Regions from separate parts of the Homo sapiens genome. Here regions 1 and 3 are each linked to region 2. The links are contacts of gene promoters, found by promoter capture Hi-C in blood cells and fetal thymus (Javierre and others, 2016). All regions are on one chromosome and are shown on one strand. Each heading gives the region's core, a stretch centred on a gene start or on the middle of the fragment in contact. The rest is flanking DNA. Distances are from core to core; before and after follow the strand shown. Region 1 holds the start of TINF2 (TERF1 interacting nuclear factor 2). Region 2 holds the start of CIDEB (cell death inducing DFFA like effector b). Region 3 overlaps NYNRIN (NYN domain and retroviral integrase containing).

Region 1 (3,185 bases), core at 1-2,500, 65 kb before region 2:
TAATCCTGGCCATTTGGGAGGCCGAGGTGGGCGGATCACTTGAGGTCAGGAGTTCGAGACCAGCCTGGCCAACATGGTGAAACCCCATCTCTACTAAAATACAAAAATTAGCTGGGCATTTGTAATCCCAGCTACTCGGGAGGCTGAGGCAGGAGAATCGCTTGAACCCGGGAGGCAGAGGTTGCAGTGAGCCGAGATTGTGCCACTGCACTCCAGCCTGGGCGACAGAGCAAGATTCCTCAAAAAAAAAAAAAAATGGGTTAGAGAAAATAGCCACATAATAGCCTTCAAACCAGTCTCACCTGCAGCTTCGAGGCCAAATCCACAGGAGCCTCTGACAGCTGCTTCACCTGCTGGTAAAAAGTTTCCTGTGCCTCCAAAATCTTCCTCAGATCCTGCTTTGTCTGTTGAGGATACAGAAGACAGAGAAGTTAGCACCAACATCCAGTAGACAGGAGGAGCAACTTTGCTGCACCAAGTGTAACTGGGGTCAGGGCTTGTTCCGGGGATTACTCACAGCCTTGGGATCCCGCACTATAGGTCCAGATTCTGGAAAGTGGTGATTCAGGGCTTTCAGGACTTGGGCCCAAGGCCGGCCCTGCAGGATCAGCTCCACCACCACCTGTACGGTACTGAATTCAGAATCCCCACTTCGGGGCAAGCTGACCTTTTCCAACTAGTCTCATCCCCAAGCTGTGGGCCCTTGTCAGGTGCTCGCATCCCGCCCCTTTCTTTCTTTCCCCTTCCAGGTCCTACTTGCTCCAATACCTTGGCCTTTAGGCCCATACAAAGGCGTTCGTGGTGCCGGTAGCGAACCAAGCCAGGGGCAACAGCGCGCAGAGATCGCAGAAACTCCAGTACTCGCGGAAAATGTTCCACGCAGCGTCCGCGCACAACCTGCCAGCTAGCCGCGGCGGCGAAGCGTAGAGCTGCGGGACCCGCCACCAGGGGCGTAGCCATGGTCGGCGGGCTCCGCCCGGAGGCGGTCCCTCCGGGTTCCTCACCCGGATGGGTGAGGCTTTCCGATCACTCCTAGGGGCGGGGCTTCTGGCAACTCCCTGTCGCTCCGGTCTGTCGGCTCTGGGTACCTCGCGATCTGACTCGGCTCCCTTCCATCGGCCCCCAGAATTCTGGGGGAGGGGGTCTTCTGGCTCGGGCTGGAGGAGCCTGAGTGGAGAAGCTGACCGTCTCCAGTGGCACTGGGTCGCTCAGCTTTAAACGTCGCCGCTGTCTCGAGCCCGAGGGTGCCTCACTTCCGGCTCCGCTACTAGCTTCCCTTGCCCCGGAAAAGGGCGGTAAGAGGGAGCCAATGGGCGGCCACAGAGGGAACCGTGACGGTGCGTCAGAAGGCCACGCCCCAGCGGAGCTGTAGCTGCCCGCTTCCTGCACTCTCTGCCGGCTGACATGAGTTGGCGGCTGAGGCTGTCGTGGCCGCTGAGGCTGTTGTGGCCGTTCGTCTGGGTCCTCCCAGCCTTGCTTTCTTCGCGGAGCCTGCGGAGAAGCCCCGTCACTCCCGTGAGGCTCGACTTCCTAGTCTGTAAAACGAGGATCATGCCACCGCCCTTTCCCACTGTCTTCACCCATCGAAATTTAGTTCTTTAAATTCCAGACCCGAGCCGGCGTCTACAAAGCCTTCCCCTCTGCGCGCGTCGCTTCCAGTAGGAATTCGACTGTTCCTTTTATAAAACAGAAGAGGGCGCCCGCCCTTAAAAAATAAAATACAGGCTGGGCGTGGTGGCTTGTGTCTAATCCCAGCGCTTTGAGAGGCCGAGGCAGGAGGGTCACTTGAGCCCAGGAGCTCCAGACAAGCCTGGGCGACATGGTGAAACCCCTTCTCTGCTAAAAGTACAAAAATTAGCTGGGCGTGGTGGCAGGCGCCTGTAATCCCAGCTACTCGGGAGGCCGAGGCAGGAGAATCGCTTGAACCCAGTAGACGGGAGGTGGCAGTGAGCCGCGATCTTGCCTCTGCATTCCAGCCTGGGCGACAGAGGGAGAATCTCTCTCAAAGAAAAAAAAAAAAAAAAAAAGAGGAAGAAGAAGAAATAGAATACAGGCTGGGGGCACGGTGACTCACACCTGTAATCCCAGCACTCTGAGAGGCCGAGAGGGGAGGATCGATCCGCTTGAGCCCAGGAGTTCCAGACCAGACTGGATCACATGGCGATAACCTGTCTCTACTGAAAATCAAAAAAACTAGCCGGGCGTAGTGGCACGCCTGTAGTCCCAGCTACTCAGGAGGCTGAGTTGGGAGGATTGTTTGAGCCAGGGAGGTTGAGGCTTCAGTGACTGCACTCCAGCCTGAGTGATAGAGTGAGACGGGGTCTCACACACACACACAAATTAGTTTCTTGTTTTAGGATTCTGTTGTGCACTGAACTTGTCAGCCCCCTAATGTAATTGACTGCTCTCCTTGACTGTCTCTTCCACAGGCTTCCTGGTGCCTCTCATTTCCATCAGCAAGCACAGAACCTAACACACAGCTTACACTCCTTAATTGTTGGCTGGATTAGTTGCCTGCCTTGACCACCTTACAAGGATTTAGTGAAACTGCTCCGTCTTTAGCCCATGTCTTCCATTCCCAGAGATAATGGTTCACACATCCTTGTCTCCGCCCCGGATCAGTCTCAGCTGATCCGCACATTCGACTGCCCAAGAAACACCCAGTCCCAAAGTACCCCAAATTGGATATGTGTGAAATTCTAGTTATCTTCCTTTTTCCCTTTATTTATTCCTTCTCTAATGTTCTTTCTTTCTTATGTAGATATGAACTTCTGTTGTTTTACTTTTTTTTTTTTTTGAGACGGAGTCTCGCTCTGTCGCCCAGGCTGAAGTGCAGTGGCGCGATCTCAGCTCACTGCAAGCTCCGCCTCCTGGGTTCACGCCATTCTCCTGCCTCAGCCTCCCGAGTAGCTGGGACTACAGGCGCCCACCACCGCGCCCGGCTTTTTTGTATTTTTAGTAGAGACGGGGTTTCACCGTGGTCTGGATCTCCTGACCTCGTGATCCGCTCGCCTCGGCCTCCCAAAGTGCTGGGATTACAAGGCGTGAGCCACCGCGCTCGGCTCTTTTTTTTTTTTTGAGGTGGGGAGACAGTCTCGCTCTGTTGCTCAGGGTGGAGTGCAGTGATCTTGGCTCACTGCAACCTCTGCCTCCTGGGCTTAAGTGATCCTCCTGCCTCAGCCTCC
Region 2 (3,207 bases), core at 650-3,149:
GGCGATGTCCTTGCTGTGCTTGGGCCTCTCCCGTCCCAGGCCATATGACAGCACTCCACTCTGTAGGACACCCTTGTCAGTGCAGTAGATCCTCATACCAGACACCCACCACTAATCTCCATCAGCACTGGGTCAGACCCTCCCTCGCTTGGACTTTCTGTCCACTGTGTGACATCCTTGACAATTCCACAACTCCTCCTGCACCTGGTCCCCAGGATCAGGGTTAAGCTAGAGAGGAAGCCCGGGAAAGCTCTAAAGGACAGGCATTGGAAGCAGCCCCAGTATAGGCCTCTTACCCTTGTAGGGCTCCAGCTCTGACCAGACTGCAACACCATCAGGCACGTGTCATCCTCCAGCAGCTGGAAGAAGTCCTCACTGTCCACTGCAGTTCCATCCTCCTCTAGCACCAGGGTTAGCACTCCATTCAGCAGTAGGGTCTCCAATGCCTGCCCAATGGCAAGAAGCAAGAAGGGCAGGTCTTATCCCATGCCCCTTCCCTCTTTAGCTGCCCAACATCCATCAGTTGGCTCTAGACATTGGTCGATGTCCCACTTTGACTTTCCGGCACTTTGATACCTCCTAAAGGTTGCAGCTCTCCGTGTTCTTCAGTTTTTGGGGGATCCTAGCTAGAGGCTGACCTTTTTCCTCTTTGCTCCTACCATGTCATTGGCATCTCCCCTTGCTCCCCTCCAAGTCACTTCTGGTTTGGAATTGGAAAGCAAGCCAGGTTCTCACGAAGTCCACCCTTCTGTCTTATCTACAATGCTGCACCTCACTTCCCACACCCTCAAGAGTTCTCCAGAAGTGTTTTCAGTAATAGTGTTTAACCTTTTTGAGTCCTTACTCTGTGCCAGGTATGAGGACTTTACCTACATTATCCTCTTACTCCTTTCAACAACCCTAGGAGGTGATGTATTATTATTGCCTTTTTATAGTTGAAGAAACTGAGGTTTTGGTAGGTTGAACAACTTCCCAAGGTTTGACAGGCAGGAAGTGGCAGAATCAGAATTTGAACTTGATTTGTCACACAAATCACCTTTCCATACTAGCTTCTGAATTCTGTCCCTCGAACTCTCCCTATCTCCTGCTAACCCCTGCTCCCATAGAAAAGCTCACTCGGTGGAAAATGAACAAATTGACCAGAGCTCATTAGGCCCACTCCGCTGCTTTTAGCCCTCAGAGGGAGGGGCAGCTGTGTGACTTCAGCCCTCTGCTCCATCATCACAAGTTGCCACTGTTGTGGAGCCCCTTGGCTACCCCTGCTATAGGAACCGAGGAACTTGGCCTACTTACTTTGGCTAGCAGCTCCTGGCGGGTGGCAGCTGTCAGGCCTTTCCGGATGGTCCGCTTGTGATCACAGACACGGAAAGGTCGCTGGGGTGGTGGAGCTGAGGTCCAGACCCTCCGTCCAAACTCCGAGCTTATATTAGATACTGACCTGGTAGTTGAGAAGAAAAGTCAAGAAGGGGCGAGGAGGGGCTTGGTGAGTGTAAAGGGCATGATGAGGGTAGAGTGGCTAGAGGGCTAGGGAGGGAGAGATCTAGGTTTATCGATTAGGGATGAGGGAGAGACCATGGAGTGCAGGTGGGGGCGGGTGGCTCAGGAGCTTGACAAGCCCACTGTGGAGTGGGGAGCAGGAGAGGAAGGGGTACTGGTTAGTCTCCTAGGGGCTGAGTGGAGTATTGTTGCCCTGCCTATATCCCCTAAAGGTGGAGGGTAGAGCGGAGGGTTAGCAGTCACCTGAGTAAGTCACTGGGGTTCAGAGCTGAGAGGTACTCCATGGTGGACCGGAGAGTTCCTTCCCTGGAACTTCTGGGCTGGGTGGTTCTCTCCTGTGCTGGGGCTTTAGTGGTGTTTTCTGTTACAAACCTGGGATCTCAGCCCAGGACAAGGTGGGAATGAGTCAAGCCTGGACTCTGGCCCCCCTGCCTGGCCAGTAAGAAGGGCAAAGTCCAAGGGGAGGGATGAGGGAGGGGCCAGATGGGGTCCTGGAGGAAGAATTGCCTGGCAAAAGCCATTGGAGCTTGTATGTGTGTCTTTGGTGATGACATGTGTTGTGAGGGTAGATGGGAACCATGTAAAAGGATGAAATGTGACTTCTGGTGTTTTTTTATTTCTATGGAGGGAATTTCTGGGGACGGTTTCTGGCTCTCAGGCTCTGAGAAGCTGCAGTTTATGAGTGGCTCTGTGTGTGCTGCCACCTACTGGAGAAGCCATAAGCTGCAGCTTTAGGAAAAGGGAACCCGGGGCAGAGTGTGGGGAAGTGGGATGGCAGCATGGCAGGGCTTTGGAAAATGAGAGGTGAGACTGTGTCCAGGAAGGGTGTAAGGAGAGGATGGATCCTGATACATGGATTCAGGATCATTAGGGTCCTGTCTGGGACACTGGCCTTCCTGCTTACCTGCTCTTTCCTTCCTCCTTGGTCGGAGGAGGGGCTGGCTCACTGCTCTGGCTTCATTTTCCAGAGCTGCCTGCTGCAGTCACACTTAGGTCATCTTCTCTCACTTTTCTCCTTTTGCCGATTAGTGGACGTGACAGAGATGTGAATGGGGCAGGGATGTCCTTTGATGGCATCAAGACTTTAGCTTCTGGTGCGCTGTGTCCCAGCTCTGATTTCAGTTGCAGCCGTGATGGACAGTTGCATGGAAGCTGAGACTCTCACTGACAGTGAAACCCTCAAATGAACACAATCCCTGCTTTCCTGCCAAGGATCCTTGTAGGGTCCCCCAGCTTCCCCACTTTTTTTCTGTGTCCTGACAAAGAAACACAGAGTAACTTGATTGCCCTGTGACCTGGCCAGTTGCATTTCCCCTGCAGGCTTGAGCCCAAGCCAGAGCCTTGAAAAGGTATTCAGGTTGTTGCCCAAAACACTGAAAAAAACTGGCCCTGGCCCTGAACCAAATACCTTGAACCCTCGTAAACTCCATACCCTGACCCCCTTGTTTTGGATATACCCAGGTAGAACAACTCTCTCTCACTGTCTGTTGTGAGGATACGCTGTAGCCCACTCATTAAGTACATTCTCCTAATAAATGCTTTGGACTGATCACCCTGCCAGTCTTTTGTCTTGGGCAATCTATACTTTTCTCAGAGGTTCCCAAGGCCTACTGAAGGGACTTAACATACTCTTAATGGCTTTCCTCTCTCTTGTTTTACCTTATGCCCTCACTTCCTGAGTTAACCTCCCAAATACAGGATCACCTGTAC
Region 3 (3,397 bases), core at 253-2,752, 94 kb after region 2:
TCTGCCTCTTGTGTTCAAGTGATTCTCCTGCCTCAGCCTTCTGAGTAGCTGGGATTACAGGCACGTGCCACCATGCCCAGCTAATTTTTGTATTTTAGTAGAGATGAGGTTTCACCATGTTGGCCAGGTTGGTCTTGAACTCCTGGCCTCAGGTGATCCACCCGCCTTGGCCTCCCAAAGTGCTGGGATTACAGGCATGAACCACTGTGCCGGGCCAGGACTCACACTTTCGGAGGTACCCCCGCCACCCCCTCCTTGCTCAAATCCTGGATTGGCTTCTCCAGGCCTACCTGCTCCGTCTCCCTCTGCTGCTTCAGGGTTCTTCGGACCGCAGATCTCACACCTCAGGCTCCCACTGTAGGCCCAGCTAATGGAATCAGTGGCTCCCTTGATTCCTAGCCCTGTTCCTCCACTCCCCCTTTGTCTTCCCTTTGGGAAAGGCATTGTTGAAAAGTGGGAACCCAGCGTGAGGGGATTCTGGGTAGCTCCCTGCCTTATTTTACACAATGACCATAAAGGAGACTTTGTTGGCAATTTGGAGAAGGAGGACAGGGAAGGTGAGGGGCGGGGGGGGTTAAAGTTTTGTCTCAGGGGTTAGGGGATCTGGGTTTGATATGCTGTCACCAAGTTACAACCAAGATAGGAGGGGTATGGTGAGGAGAGTTTGAGACTGGGGTTTGCTACCTGTTAACTATCTGAACTGGGTGATCAGATCAAATAATTTATCCTCTCTTGAGCCATTTCCCTCATCTATGGAACAGACTATAATAATACCTGGTTCATGAAGAGTTTGTGAGAGTCTGCTGAAATCATGCATGTTACAATACTGTTATAAAATGTGGAGAGCTATAGAGTATAGATGTTAGCTACTATTGTTTTTGACTAGCTGCGTAACTTTGAGCAAGTCCTTTTCCCTCTCTGAGTCTCGATCTCCCTGTTTGTAAAGTGGAAGTCTTGGATTAAATGCTGTCTGAGGTCCAGCGATCTGACACATGAACATTTCCCAAGTGTAAGGATGTCTTGTGGTTCTCATAGGGAGGCAGCGTGGCTGGCCCCAATCTCAGCTGTAGGGACACAGAATCATGCACTTTGTTAGTGGCATACTGAACATAGGCCAACAGGCAGAGAGGACTCTGGGAGACTACAGGTTGCAGGACTGGGGGAGGGCTGATGGTGAGGGTGGCTTGTTGGGGTCTGAGGGGAGGAGGGGTCGAGAAGGATACAGGCTCATCTAGAGAAGGGCCTGAGTGTGTTTCTATGTGGTTGGTTTCTCAGGAAAATCTCTGTAAATCTTGAGTGCTTTAAAATTGTTTTGTTGTGGTGGGATTAAAGAACACTGAAGACATTACTGTGAAACACATACCCAGGCAGCAAAACAAACACTGGGGAGGCCTCTCTGAGGTGAAATCAGTGAGTGGAGAGGCGGGTTTTAGTAATGATCAGAAGAGGCCCGGGACAAGCCCTGCTCCACCCTTCTCCCCTTTGGCAGTGAGGTGAGGATGGGGTGGGCGGCAGAGAAGAGAGGTGACCACTGCGGGAGGTGATGGGGAGCCTAAAGGCAGTGGTGGTGGGCAAGAGTACCTTCTGGAGACTGGGTTCTGGAGCTCTGGGACAGGGTGTGGCCTGCTGACATCTGGCTTGGCTGTCAGATGGAAGTTGAACTATCTTTGCTGCACACTAACTGTGAGCAGTACCCTGAGAGTTGGTTGCGGTCAGTGCCTGGAGTTGGCTCCTATGGACCCACTGTTAAAATTTCGGGAATTGTGCAAGTGAGTGGAGGAGTATTTACAGCCATGGTGGGAGTATTTATGCCACAGAAATTGGCAAATGCGACAAATCAAGGTTACCCCCCACCCCCAGCTGATTGTTAAACATTTACCAGGACACCTGCTTGTGTTGTGGGCACTGAATACTTCTTTTTCTTTAAACTTAAATTTTCTTTTATCAAAGTAATACACATTTGAAAAGTCCAATTTTACCAAAAGGCTTAGAAGAGCACACAGAGGTTCCCTGCCCCGGCCCTCCCAATTCCTCCTTCAGTAACCATCCCCACTGACAGTATTTGCTCTGGCATTTACGCATCTCCACATTTCTAAAAGAATATGTAGACACTATTGTCTTTTAATTAATTGACGTTTGCTGCTATCTTTTTTTGGTCCCATTATCGTATGTGAGGATTGAGCTCCCTTTCACGGCCAGCCCCTCTTCTCAAGATAGTTCTGTTTCAATTACCTGCTAAATCTACGTTTAGCATTGCCTCATTATGCCTTGCACATAGCGTTCACATCGAAGCACTGAAGTGTACTATGATTTTGTTTTCTTTCTTACTTTTTGGGTTTTACTGAGGTCATTGAGGTTAAGCACTCCTTGTTTTTCAATTTGCCTTTCTTTGTACCTATTGTTAATTCTTACCACTTCCAGTAGCCTCTCAGTACAGTTTTCTACAAGGTCAGTCTATCAGTTCAAGGTGTTCTTTTGGTTCTAAATTTTTTCTTGGCGCCGTCTCTCCTGTCTGGTCAGTTGCTTTCCAGGCTGACACAGCTGTCGTTCTTGGCATCCTTTGCCTTTTTTCTTTGCTAGATACTCATGTCCTGGACCTTGAAACTTTTTCTTTCTTGGGTTGATGGAACACATCCCTCTGTAGCCTCAAGTTAAAAAGATGGTGCAGCAGCAAAGTGTATGCAGATGCCTGCTTTCAACATGCCTGTCTCTTGAGTCATACCCTCCAATCTGAACTAGCTGTCCTGTGTAATGACCATTGTCACCCTAAAACAGTGCCTGGCATGTAGTCAAGAATTATTTGTCGAATGGATGAATAAATTCTGAGATTTCTCTTCACCGTCATCCTGGAGATGGTCTTTGCTTCTTTCTTACTTGGTTTGCTGGAAAACTGCTCTCCAGTGGCTTCCCGGGAAAAGTTTTACAGGAGGAAAAATGCTGAGGTTGCATGTCCACGTTGCATAGCCAAAGGATATTTGATTGAGAGCTTGGCTGATATTGAATTATAAAAGGAAAATTATTTTCCTTCAGAAATGTGAGGGTTGTGCTCCATTTGGAGGAGCCTGAAGCTGTTCTGGTCCCTGGTCATTTGTGTGAGATGTTTTTTTCTCTGGAAGTTGTCAGTTTTCCCCAATGTTCTGCAGTCTCCCAGTGAGGCCCCTTTGTGCGGTTCTGTTTTCCTCCATTGTCAGGCACTCTTGTTGTACTTAGGGGGCCTTCTATCTGGACACTCATGTTCCTCAGATCTGGGAAATGTGGGGAAGTATTTAGTCGATGATTTCCTCTCCTGTGCTATCTCTGTCCTCTCTTTCTGGAAGTCCTCTGCTTTTCTTATGTTTTCTCCTCTTTTTCAACTTTAACTTTTTGTTCTGCTTTCTGAAGATTTCCTTAATTTTAT

The links. The method cuts DNA at HindIII sites, captures the fragments that hold promoters and counts their contacts. A CHiCAGO score of 5 or more calls a contact.
Region 1: the fragment with the promoter of TINF2 here is called in contact with the fragment with the promoter of CIDEB in region 2 in 7 of 17 cell types (total CD8 T cells, neutrophils, naive CD4 T cells and 4 more); the score reaches 7.3 in total CD8 T cells.
Region 3: a fragment that was not itself captured here is called in contact with the fragment with the promoter of CIDEB in region 2 in 5 of 17 cell types (naive CD8 T cells, erythroblasts, total CD4 T cells and 2 more); the score reaches 7.0 in naive CD8 T cells.

What each region holds. Positions count from the first base shown.
Region 1 is chr14:24,241,373-24,244,557 of GRCh38, forward strand. It overlaps TINF2 (TERF1 interacting nuclear factor 2), which reads right to left and starts at 1,251. Exons shown (of 9, transcript NM_001099274.3): 1 at 769-1,251; 2 at 518-622; 3 at 303-404. The coding sequence starts at 960. RefSeq lists enhancers at 1-19, 680-899, 970-1,229, 1,400-1,699 and a silencer at 1,891-2,185. The HindIII fragment of the contact is 13,864 bases long and covers 1-3,185 here.
Region 2 is chr14:24,306,078-24,309,284 of GRCh38, forward strand. It overlaps CIDEB (cell death inducing DFFA like effector b), which reads right to left and starts at 1,900. Exons shown (of 5, transcript NM_001393339.1): 1 at 1,741-1,900; 2 at 1,294-1,438; 3 at 297-446; 4 at 1-60. The coding sequence starts at 1,781. It overlaps NOP9 (NOP9 nucleolar protein), which reads left to right. Exons shown (of 10, transcript NM_174913.3): 10 at 1-3,047. The HindIII fragment of the contact is 15,090 bases long and covers 1-3,207 here.
Region 3 is chr14:24,400,873-24,404,269 of GRCh38, forward strand. All of the region lies in intron 2 of NYNRIN (NYN domain and retroviral integrase containing), which reads left to right. Among named protein-coding and RNA genes, the nearest start is that of NYNRIN, 3.6 kb to the left of the region's middle. The HindIII fragment of the contact is 4,166 bases long and covers 1-3,397 here.